Regions from separate parts of the Homo sapiens genome. Here all the other regions are linked to region 3. Evidence: promoter capture Hi-C in human tissues and cell types (Jung and others, 2019). All regions are on one chromosome and are shown on one strand. Each heading gives the region's core, a stretch centred on a gene start or on the middle of the fragment in contact. The rest is flanking DNA. Distances are from core to core; before and after follow the strand shown. Region 1 overlaps CSTPP1 (centriolar satellite-associated tubulin polyglutamylase complex regulator 1). Region 2 holds the start of AMBRA1 (autophagy and beclin 1 regulator 1). Region 3 holds the start of CKAP5 (cytoskeleton associated protein 5).

Region 1 (3,859 bases), core at 1,099-3,598, 160 kb after region 3:
TCTGCTTGCCCTCTCACCTATGCTGTCTGTCACTCCTTGGTTGTTGGTGTTTTCAAACAAGTCCATGACTGTTCCAGCAAATCTGGATAAACTGTAAAACACAAGTGGCTGAACAGTACTTTGTGTATGTCTGCAAGACCATGAGCTCTGTAGATCATATTCCTCTGGACACTCTTGAAAGACGGATACTAAATCCCAGAGGATTTTCTTTTATGTTGTATGTAACCTCTACCTCTGAATGTTGTCCTTCAACCAGTGGAAGGTAAAAGAAATTAATATTTAGAGGTGCTACTCTAAGAATAGGCCAAATGTCAGCACTGGGTCAGGACCTCTGAAGAAATACATCCAAGAAAATGGGCGAGAGTAGCTCTAACTTAGAAACCACAGCAGAGTGTGACCAGATTCTTGTGGTAAAGATAAAATGAGAAATGTGGCTTTTTGAGACATTGGAAAATAATGATGAGAGAAAAACAGGATGAAATCTGAGAATTTGTATCAGAATTGGGAACCATTCTTCACAGGCTAAATTGATAGTTCCAACACTATGGCATCAGGGAGCTTGACTTCCACATACTAATATAGAAAAGAATAATATTCTGTGGTCTTGGTTGGTGGGCCCAGGAGAGCTCGCTTTTATGATCAAGTGTCTTGTTTTCGTTTTTTAAAGGATGATTTTAGTTTTTTGGTGAAGTTTTTATGATGACTGTTTTGGTTGCAAGGGAAAGAAGTACACAGACTACCTTTGGTTTATTTTAAGGATACGTGAGAATATGCAGCATTCATTTGTGAATTATTCATTCACAAATTACTTTTGGGCACCTACTCTGTGCCTGTGTGTACTATGCAATGGGAATAGAGCAGTGAGCAAGACAAATAAGGTACCTATCTTTATGAACCTAGTGTTTTAATGAGGGTAATAATCAATAAACAAGCAAACTGATGGGGATGAGAATAGCTAATAGTTAATAAGCACTGTGTGCTAGGCACTGTTCTAAGCATATAATATCCATTATTTTATTTAATCTTCACAGTTCTATATAAACAGGGTATTAGTATTATCCTCATTTTACTCATAAGGAAATTCAGGCTATAAAAGTAACATTCTCATGGTTACATAGCTGGTAACTGTAACAAGACAAATAACAAGAAAACAGCCAGAGTAAGGTAATATATAGTATGGACAGGGAAGTCCTCTTGGAAGAGATGACGATTGAGAGCTCATCCCATCAGAGAGCCAATAACTTAGCTCAGAGGGTGATGCACCTTTTCTTTGTCCACCTTGATTATCTAAGTAAGCTTCCTGTGTCCAAAAATGATCATTTGATTGATTTTATTTGTTGCTACTGAGAATGGAGTACCCTTACTAGGCAGTGTTCTTAGGACCCCCTCATGGGTAACTGGCCTCCCTCATGCTCTGCTCCTATTTAACCAGTGAAAGTAAATAAAATAATTCATCATCAAAAGTATTTGTGTTCTACACTACATAGTATAAATATGGAGATGGAAATCTTTGTCAGTTTTTAGAAAAGGAGCATTAATAATTTCATTTTGATACATGTTAATCATCAGAATTAATTTTGATTCAAATAAATCCATAAAATATGAACTTCATTAATTCATCCTTGGAGAAAAAAAGAGATTCCAATAGTGCATACCCGTTTTTTTTTTCTTTTTTCTTTTCTTTTACTTTAAGTTCTGGGATACATGTGTAGAACGTGCAGGTTTGTTACATAGGTAATAGTGCATATTCCTAAATAACTTAAAACGTAACTCTAATGAAAACAATCCATGATTATAAAATATGTATCATTTCTTGTTATTTTTTTTTTCAGACAGGTGCTTTAAGCCCTATGAAAAGATGACCCACTTCTTTCCTACATAATCTATAACAATCAGGGCATAAACATTCATTCTAAAGGTGACAGATTTTTTAAGGATCATTCACCATCTAGAGTTTAAATAATGTTGTTTGGGGTTCTTCTTGTGTCCATGGTAACAGAGGAGCAGGTGTGAGGCAACAAGAAGCACATCAGAACAAACCAAGACTTCGCTGATTTCCAGCTTGTAGCTCTGAATGAGAGATGGACTTGAGACTTCTTTGGGCCATTTCTGCTCATGTTTTCTCTACTTATTTACGTTAAATTGAGCCAAAATGTGGTGTGGTAAAGTAATGGTGACTAATCCTATTATAGACTTCTTCAAAAGGGGTAATGCTTCCCCCTTTACCCACCCCCTCCCCTGACTTTTTTCCATAGTTCAGTTCTTAGCTGTTAAACATTGTAACAGAAAATTACCCGTTTCTCATTGTCAGCATCTGGTTTCCCACAGACTCAGATAATTGTCAGGAAGAGATTTGCCTTCAGTTAAAGCAACCCTATCCCCACTGTTACTAGGCCAGGCACCTCTGTTAGACCATCATAGAACCAAATCTATAGAGGATTCTTTCTGGCTCTTTTCTGTATTACTAGAGGTATGCTATAGCAAAAAGACTACAGGGAGCCATGGTGGTGAGTTAAGAGTCAAAATCTGTTTTGAAACTTAAAAATCCAGGGTCATTGAGGATGCAAGAAGTTGCCTGTTTTTGTAGAATCCATCTCACTTCTTCAGTCCCTTTGTATTATGGTTACAGGAAACTATCCAGCAGCACTTGACCTGGTAATGGAGGAAGCTATTTCACAGCCCACTGGTCCCTTGACTCGTTTAGAAGTCAGAGTCAAAGGTTACAGAAGTAATAATTGGGCCCAGATTCTCCCTGTCAGGAAAGACCTTGTTCCCCCCACCCCACCCCCTGCCTTCTACAAGTTAAGAGAAACTTATCTGTTATAAAACCATTCAATAAGAGGAAATGAAGAAACACCATCCTTGGCTGAAGTGTTCTCAAGCCCCAATGATACTATTTCTGTTTTCATGGGAGCTGCTTTTGCAGCTAGCTAGTATAAAATTTAGGTCTGATTTTTTACATTAAAATATCTCCCCTTAGATAAATAACTTGATTTATTTCAATCTATAAATAATATGAAGGATCTTTATTTGGTCCAAGCCCTGATATTCCTTCACACCACCACTCTGATAATTCCCTGAATACTTGTCTGGCAATCAAGTACACTCACACGAGTCTTAATTAACAAGTGTTATGCCATTAGCAATGTAAAGTCAGTCATCAAAAGTTAAGAAACTAGGCCAGATTATAGGCTCACACCTATAATCCCAGCACTTTGGGAAGCCAAGGTGGGAAAATCACTTGAGGCCAGGAGTTTGAGGCCATCCTGGGCAACACAATGAGACCCCTGTCTCTACAAGAAGAATAAGAAGTTTAAAAAGCTTTACTTCACCAGCAACAGAACAATTTAAAATTTTCAGTGCTTTTAATTTCTTCCATAATTTGCTCAGAACTCTAGCAGATCAATCTGTGGTGCCATTGGCACAGGCTTGGCACTGGAGTAGGAAAGAATGACACAATTTGGCACCTTTAACCAGAAGATCTTTAATGAGCTGGCGTGGGGGTGGAGGGGACAGAGAGGAAGGAAGGACAGTTAGGATTTTGGCAGTAACACAAAGGTTCTTCTTCCCTGAGAAAAGTGAAATGAAAGTCAAATGAAGCTTCACTCTGCTTTTAGAATTTGCTAAGATGTTTGTCTGTCTCTCAGCTCCCGGCCCCCTTGCAGGTGCATCATTATAGTCAGTGACTTCTCCAAAAAACAAATTGTCTCTCAGGATCCTTCAGGAGGGGTCATATCTAACCAATTTCTTGTCTGAGGACATAATTGTGATTCCCTTCTTCAACTATCAGATGCAATGCTACCAGCACTGCAGAAACTGTCTTATCAGAAAGTGGCACAAATGTGTACATTTCTTCTAG
Region 2 (3,804 bases), core at 843-3,342, 250 kb before region 3:
CTCAAGACTGATTTTTTTTTTTTTTTTTTTTTGAGACGGAGTTTCGCTCTTGTTGCCTAGGCTGGAGTGCAACGGCGTGATCTCGGCTCACCGCAACCTCCGCCTCCCGAGTTCAAGTGATTCTCCTGCCTCAGCCTCCCAAGTAGCTGGGATTACAGGCATGCGCCACCACGCCCGGCTAATTTTGAATTTTTAGGTTTCTCCACGTTAGTCAGGCTGGTCTCGAATTTCCGACCTCAGGTGATCCACCTGCCTTGGCCTCCCAAAGTGCTGGGATTACAGGAGTGAGCCACTGCGCCCGACAGGCTGAATTTTTTTTTTTCCAAGAATGAAGTGACACAAATTAGGATCATGGTACTGAATCCGATGAAAATAACAGACTTAGTCCCCAGACTTTCCAAGCTGGGAAGGAAAAGGGAACCACAAAGGAGTTCCCAAAGCGTTAACCTTTCATTTAAATATCTCAATATTTGAATGATTTCTACACACAGCCTTTTTTAGCTTTTGTATGTGCAGTGACCAAACTACTAATCAAATACAACAAAACTGGGCGGGCGCGGTGGATGCCTGTAATTCCAGCACTTTGAGAGGCCGACGTGGACGAATCACTTGAGGCCAGGAGTTCAAGACCAGCCTGGCCAACATGATGAAACCCCGTCTTTACTACAAATACAAAAATTAGCCGAGTGTGGTGGCGCGCGCCGGTACTTCCAGCTACTCGGGAGTCTGAGGCAGGGGAATCGCTTGAACCCGGGAGGCAGAGGTTGCAGTGAGCCAAGATCGCGCCACTGCACTCCAGTTTGGGCGACAGAGCTAGCCTGTCTTAAAAAAAAAAAAGAAAAAAGAGAGACAGACTCCTTGGGTTTCCATTGGATACTCCCCAGAAAGCAGACCCTCACAGGACAAGCGTTTGCCTTCAAAGTCTTGACCATCCTCTACTAGACTCTAACCTCTAACCACAAACACCATAGTTATAAGATTTCCAAAGAGGCTGGGGAGAAGGAGGATAAATCAACCAGGAAACAATGTAGACAACAAGGTTATCAGGAAACAAAGTAGACAACAAGGTTATCAGGAAACAAAGTAGACAACAAGGTTATCAAGAAACAAAAAGAAACTGTCATTGCTACACTAGTTAAAATGATACAGACTTTGAAAAGCAAAACAGCCAAGAAACCACATGGTTCCTTTACTTCTGAAGCCTCTTGTGACAGGATCTATATTCCTAACAGTCTATATTCCTAGGAAAATTGGGATCACAGACGATCAAACAATAACTCACTGTTTTCATAACTTGACTGGTAAGTGGGGGGAAGGGAATTGGTAAACGACAAAAAGTGACTTACAGTGAATTTAATGATCTGTTGGGGATATGTGGGGAAGTCACGTCCCAGACATCAGCCTCAGTTTACCCACCCAGAAAAAGGCGAGAACATAACACTTCGCTCAGAAGAGCCAGAGGGCCTTGTTCCATAAGCCTCCACCTACTCAAAGGTCCCTTCAAAGGCTGGACTCAGTAGGGGTCCCCAGTGCAATTGAGGCATGACACCCGGAGACTTCGGGGTGGGGGGAAAAGGAGAAAGGAAGGAGGGTCAAAGTGCGCAAAGCTCTATCGGTTCCTGGAAAGCCATTTTCGCCACACACTGGGGGTGCCCTAGACCCAACATCTCCTCCCTAAAGAACCACACCGGGAAGCCCCAGCAACTCTCCCTCCTTTCGGCTTCTCCCTCGGTTCCGGGCTGCCCCTCCGGCCGCGCCCCTCAACGCAGTCCGGTAGCCCCTCCTCTGGCAGTGTCACGGCGGCCGGCCAGCCTGCCCACCCGCCGGCGCCAAGGTCTTCTCAACCCCGCGGCGGAAGGATGCCGGGCTGGGCCTCCCAGGCTCCTCCTGGGCCTACCTGCAAGGCAGACGGGAGCTCGGTTTGCAGTCCAGCGAACGGGCTGAGCCACAGGGAAAAAGAAAGAGGAGACAGGAATAAAGGAAGGGGTCCGTTCTACCGACCGGCAGGAGAAGGCGGCTTGAGCGCGGGGCCTCGCGGACAACTCAGCCCTCGACCCGGCGCCGCCGCCGCTCAGGAGACATCAAGCAAGAAGACGGCGCAAAAGATCACCGAATACAAGAACGCCCCAGACATCAAAGGAGGAACGCCCAAGCAATCGTTCAAGGAACCACAGCCGAGCGCCGAAAAACAGCTCAACTCCTACTCAAGGTCCGGCTCCTGTCTGAGGCGTAAATAAACAAACCCAGATCATAAGCCACGGGTTAAAAAAGAGCCTGCACTTCTGCCATTTTCTGTGGGTCGCCGGCTGTTAAAGTTCTTTAGAGAACTGGAGTTTCTCGTGAATGTGTTGAAGATCAAATCATAGCGCAATAACACTTGTTGTGTAACTATAGTCCCCCAACTGTTCTATGGACTCCCAACACTCTTTATCCCAATTGAGCAAATTAGTTAACCTCATTTGACCCTTAGTTTCCTAACAGAGCAGTGAGGGGAATTAAAAATCATAGAGACAGAAAACGAGAGAGAATTCAAGCTGAGGAACAAAATGAACAGTCTACGTAAAAGCTCCAGTTTAGTCCCCACAAAGCATGACCAAGAGAAGCTGGGAAAACCCAGAATTATGTAGCCTGACCTTAAGGCAGGGGGAAAAAAAGCACACGGATTGCTTTTCTCTTTTATTTTCTTCCAAAGGCCTAGAGCCACAGGTGTGCTTCTTACATAATAAGCAAAAGTCTCTTTGGGTTCAGAACCTGATAAAGTGTTGACATTTTCATCACCACAACAATGGCTTTTTTCTGTAGTCTCTTAGTTGATAAATGAATATGCTCAGCACAAATATGGATTAATATGTACATCCTAGATGTGATTCAATAAATCACAAAGATCACTGCAAGTATGGTTACCAATTGTGAGCAATCATAGTCTACCTTACCTGCTCCTAGGGAGGTTTACACCCTTCCCCACTACTCAGAGAGGAAGGGTGTAAAAAGGAAACAAGATAGTCCCAGTTTGTCGGGCGCAGCGGCTCACGTCCATAATTCCAGCACTTTAGGAGACGAGGCTGGTGGATTGCTTTGAGCCCTGGAGTTCAAGACCAGCCTGGGCAACATGGTGAGACTCCAGTCTCTATAAAAAAAAAATAAATAAATACAAAAAGTTAGCCGGGCCTGGTGGCTCCCGCCTGTAGGCCCAGCTACTCGGGAAGCTAAGATGAAAGGATATCCTGAGCCCGGGAGGTGGAGGCTGCGATGAGCCATGATCACACCATTGCACTCCAGCCTGATCTATGGAGCAAGACCCTATCTTAAATTTTTTTTTTTTTAAATGCCGGGCGCAGTGGCTCACGCCTGTAAGCCCAGGACTTTGGGAGGCCGAGGCAGGTGGATCACGAGGTCAGGAGTTTGAGACCAGCCTGGTCAAGATGGTGAAACCCCGTCTCTACTAAAAATACAAAAATTAGCCGGTCGTGGTGGCGGGTGCCTGTTATCCCAGCTTTTCGGGAGGCTGAGGCAGGAGAATCGCTTGAACCCAGGAGGCGGAGGTTGCAGTGAGCAGAGATCGTGCCACTGCACTCCAGCCTGGGCGACACAGCAAGACTCCGTCTAAAAAAAAAAAAAAAAAAAAAAAAAAAAAAAAAAAAAAAAAAAAAAAAGTCCCAGCCTTTGAAGACTTTAATTAAACTCAAAGAGCACATCCTTACAGTATTAGCCTTTTTTAAATAATGTATTGGCACTTTACAAAAATCTCCTCTAAGTCTTTGAAAATACTGCCCAGGCCGGGCGCGGTGGCTCACGCCTGTAATC
Region 3 (3,720 bases), core at 609-3,108:
ACAAACAAACAAACAAAAAACACCAAAAAAACAGGTGCTGCTAAAACTGAACTGTCAGTAGTAGAAGACTGCGATGGAATTACCACACCCACTGTTCATAATTCAAACATAATTCAAAACTGATCAAGACTTTAAAGTAATGGAGAATAAAGTAAAAGGCATGTTAATTGTTACGGAATACCTTTGCTTGCCATTGCCTCAGTGAACAGCCTTTTAAAAAATTTTTTTTCTTTTTTTTGAGACAGAGGGTCGCTCTGTCACCCAGGCTAGAGTGCAATGGCGGGATCTTGGCTCACTGCAACCTCTGTCTCCCGGGTTCAAATGATTCTCTTGCCTCGGCCTCCCGAGTAGCTAGGATTACAGGCGCCCGCCATCACGCCCAGCCATTTTTTGTATTTTTAGTAGAGAGAGAGAGAGAGAGACGGGGTTTCACCATGTTGGCCCGACTGGTCTCAAACTCCTGACCTCGTGATCCGCCCGCCTCGGCCTCCCAAAGTGTTGGGATTACAGGCGTCAGCCACCGCGCCCAGCCTAAAATCTTATTTAAAAATTTTTTTACATGAGTTTACCAACTAGATTTAACTTATGGTTGCAAAATAAATTGATTTCACCTTTATCTATATCATTAAATTTGGTAAAAGCATTACAGTTTGTCCAGTCACTTCAGAGAAGTCAAAGTCTTCTACAATTTCTTAAAGTTTCAAAAGATTCTTAGCTTAATTTATTGGCTCTTTAGGTCAAAAGAAGGACTTTTCAGGGTGATGAAAATGGAGGAAGGAGGAGCTCACCTTTCTAAAAATGAGTTTTCAATTACTATAATTATGCATAAGACAGGCAGCATTTCTGGGCCAAGATTTGATGCCTTGGTCCCATGAGAATTAAATTAGAGCCACGCATAAATTTGGGGCAAGTTCTGCAAAAACCACTTCAACCTCTATTGATGCTGAATAAAAAACTCATTGTTAAGATTCATCAACACGAATATATTTTCTAACACACACTAGCCACTCTGGCAACAACCCTTTCATCATTTTCTATCCAAGAAACACAACGGAATGCATTTCAATCCTGCTCAACAATTACCACGATTACAAGTAGAGGGGAGAGCTCAAAAGTAAGAATCTAGTTCACCGAGCCCGACCTTAAAGTAGCAAGGCCCAACCCACACTGCTGGCTATTGTATTGGTTCCCCAACACCTCCAGGGCTGGAAGGACACCAGAACGCTCCCGACACGTTGAGAGAGAGAAAGCCAGTCGTTAAGGGCGGGGTGGTGGATGATCGGAATCGTTCACATCGCAGCAAGCCAGCAGGGACACAGGTGTGCGGCCAGGCCCCGGTGCCGCTGTCCTTGCTCCAGGGCGACAAGGCCCTTCGCAACCACCACAGCCCTCGTAGGCGCTTACTTATTCATTCACTTGACAATTACGCGAGAGGCACTCTAGCAGGGCCGGCTCTCGGGGCCCCCGCCCTAGTCTTGGTAAATCGCTGCCGCCAGGCGCGGCCCTGCACCGCCCGCGCCCCGCGGACGCTGCCACCCGCGCCACGCTGCGGCGCGCTCTGGCCACCTGGAGCCCAACCCCGGCCTCCGCCGCACACGAGCGCCCACGCCCCCGGCCCTGCCCGCCGCAGGTCCCCCGGCCTCCGGCTCGCTTCGCCGCCTCAGACCTGCCGGGTTCGTGGGGCAAGTGGGGCGCGCGTCTGGAGACCTCCAGCCGCCCAGGATTCAGGGGCTCCTCTGCGCGCGCGATGCCTGCACTCGAGGGCCTCGCGGGTGGGGCAGGCCCACCGACCACTCACCTCAGCTGGGTCAGAACCAAGCGGCCTGCTCTAAGCCGTTTGAAACCGCTTGGGCCGCCGCACACCCCGCAGTGTCCTCGTTCTTTATTGGTCCTCGACGGACCGCCCATCGGACTTTTATTGGTCCATTTGAAAGGCCTGTGGGCACGCGCCGCCCGCAGCCTTAAAGGGGCCGCGCGCAGCCGTGTTTCCCTCTGGACCAGACGCCGCCTGCACGGGTGGGGACGCTGGTCGCTGCCGGGGGCAAGTCTGCCGACTCCAGAAAGAAAGGCGAAAGAATGTGTGTAGACCCGGGCATCCTTGGTCGTCAGCATGTTTGCTTTATTTAATTACAGATGTTCAGGCTGCTGTCAACACCCGACAATTTTTTTTGGTCATTTCATTCCCTAGAGATTGTGAAGCTAAGTGCTGTGAGGGAAACCAGAGGCAGCTGAGATGTCGTGGAAGTAACAGCGAATGAAGCCAGGATGCTGGATTCTGACCTTGGAACTGTTCTGAGTAAATCACTTTTCTCAGTAAATCTTCTGGAGTTGTTTCCTTATCTGTAAAATGGGATAACGATGTTTCCCTTACAATTTAATGGAGGAGTTAATATAACTAATAGAATGTCTGAGAAAAGCCTTTGTGAACTGTAACGCATCCTGCAAATGCTTAATATTCCCTTATAAAAACGAGAGGCTTGGTTAACATGATCTCCAGAATTTTAGCTTAGCTCTACATTCAGTGTTTCTGTGAATGAGTTCAGGTCCTTACTTCCAAGGAATTTGTAATCTACAGTGGTTGGAGGAATATAACATACAGACTAGTCACTAAAATTCAAAGCAGTGTAATAACTGTATAAATGAAAAGCTATAAATGCTTAGAGACAGGAGAAATTTGATGGGGGAGGATCTGTGAGGAAGATGAATTTTTAACCTAGGATTTAAAGAATGTGTAGATTCCCAACAGGCTAAAAGATGGAGAGAGGATGGATAAAAGTAAATGAAACAATTACATGTTTTTTCATTGTCAAGTTGGCAGAGATGAAAAAGTTCAACAGCCTTTGGTTGGTCAAGATTTGGAAAAACAGGCTGGGTGCAATGGCTTATGCCTGTAATCCTAGCGCTTTGGGAGGCCGAGGCAGGAGGATTGCTTGAGGCCAGGAGTTCAAGACCAACCTGGGTCTTGCTATCAAGACCCCATCTCTGTTTTTAAAAATATAAAGAGATTTGGAAAAATGGACACTCAAAGTCAATATTGGTAAGAGTATAATTGGTACAAACCTTTAGGAGGACAATTTGACAGTTACTAAAATGTACATAATCTAGTTCTGGCCCAGTAATCCACTATGAGGAATTTATCGTACAGATCTGTGCAAGTATGCAAAGAAAAATGTACAAGGATGTTTACTGCAATACTGCTTTTTTTTTTTTTTTTTTTGAGACAGTCTCGCTCTGTCGCCCAGGCTGGAGTGCAGTGGCGCAATCTCAGCTCACTGCAACCTCCGCCTCCCGTGTTCAAGCGATTCTCCTGCCTCAGCCTCCTGAGTAGCTGGGACTACAGGCACGTGCCATCACACCTGGCTAATTTTTTGTAGTTTTAGTAGAGACGGAGTTGCACTGTGTTAGCCAGGCTGGTCTTGATCTGCTGACCTCGTGATCCTCCCGCCTGGGCCTCCCAAAGTGCTGGGATTACAGGCGTGAGCCACTGCACCCGGCTTTTTTTTTTTTTTTTTCTGACAGAGTCTCTCTCATGTCACCCGGGCTGTAGTGCAATGGCGTGATCTTGGCTCACTGCAACCTCCATCTCCCGGGTTCAAGCAATTCTCCTGCCTCAGGCTCCCAAGTAGCTGGGATTACAGGCACCTGCCACCACGCCCGGCTAATTATTTTTTATTGTATTTTTAACAGAGATGGGGTTTCACCATGTTGGTCAAGCTGGTT

What was found. The method cuts DNA at HindIII sites, captures the fragments that hold promoters and counts their contacts. A contact is called where the count stands out against the background at its distance.
Region 1: a fragment that was not itself captured here is called in contact with the fragment with the promoter of CKAP5 in region 3 in 1 of the 25 tissues and cell types used here (mesenchymal stem cells).
Region 2: a contact is called between the fragment with the promoter of AMBRA1 here and the fragment with the promoter of CKAP5 in region 3, in 1 of the 25 tissues and cell types used here (liver).

Annotation. Positions count from the first base shown.
Region 1 is chr11:46,999,851-47,003,709 of GRCh38, forward strand. All of the region lies in intron 2 of CSTPP1 (centriolar satellite-associated tubulin polyglutamylase complex regulator 1), which reads left to right. It overlaps LOC124902670 (a long non-coding RNA gene), which reads left to right. Exons shown (of 2, transcript XR_007062665.1): 1 at 1-3,859. Among named protein-coding and RNA genes, the nearest start is that of CSTPP1, 65 kb to the left of the region's middle. The HindIII fragment of the contact is 3,670 bases long and covers 514-3,859 here.
Region 2 is chr11:46,591,931-46,595,734 of GRCh38, forward strand. It overlaps AMBRA1 (autophagy and beclin 1 regulator 1), which reads right to left and starts at 2,093. Exons shown (of 18, transcript NM_001387011.1): 1 at 1,898-2,093. RefSeq lists enhancers at 1,845-2,345, 1,848-2,277. The HindIII fragment of the contact is 25,136 bases long and covers 1-3,804 here.
Region 3 is chr11:46,844,422-46,848,141 of GRCh38, forward strand. It overlaps CKAP5 (cytoskeleton associated protein 5), which reads right to left and starts at 1,859. Exons shown (of 44, transcript NM_001008938.4): 1 at 1,799-1,859. It overlaps LRP4-AS1 (LRP4 antisense RNA 1), which reads left to right and starts at 1,990. Exons shown (of 3, transcript NR_038909.1): 1 at 1,990-2,078; 2 at 2,189-2,296. RefSeq lists enhancers at 1-43, 1,102-1,679, 2,134-2,253 and silencers at 1,514-1,663, 1,844-1,923. The HindIII fragment of the contact is 16,643 bases long and covers 1-3,720 here.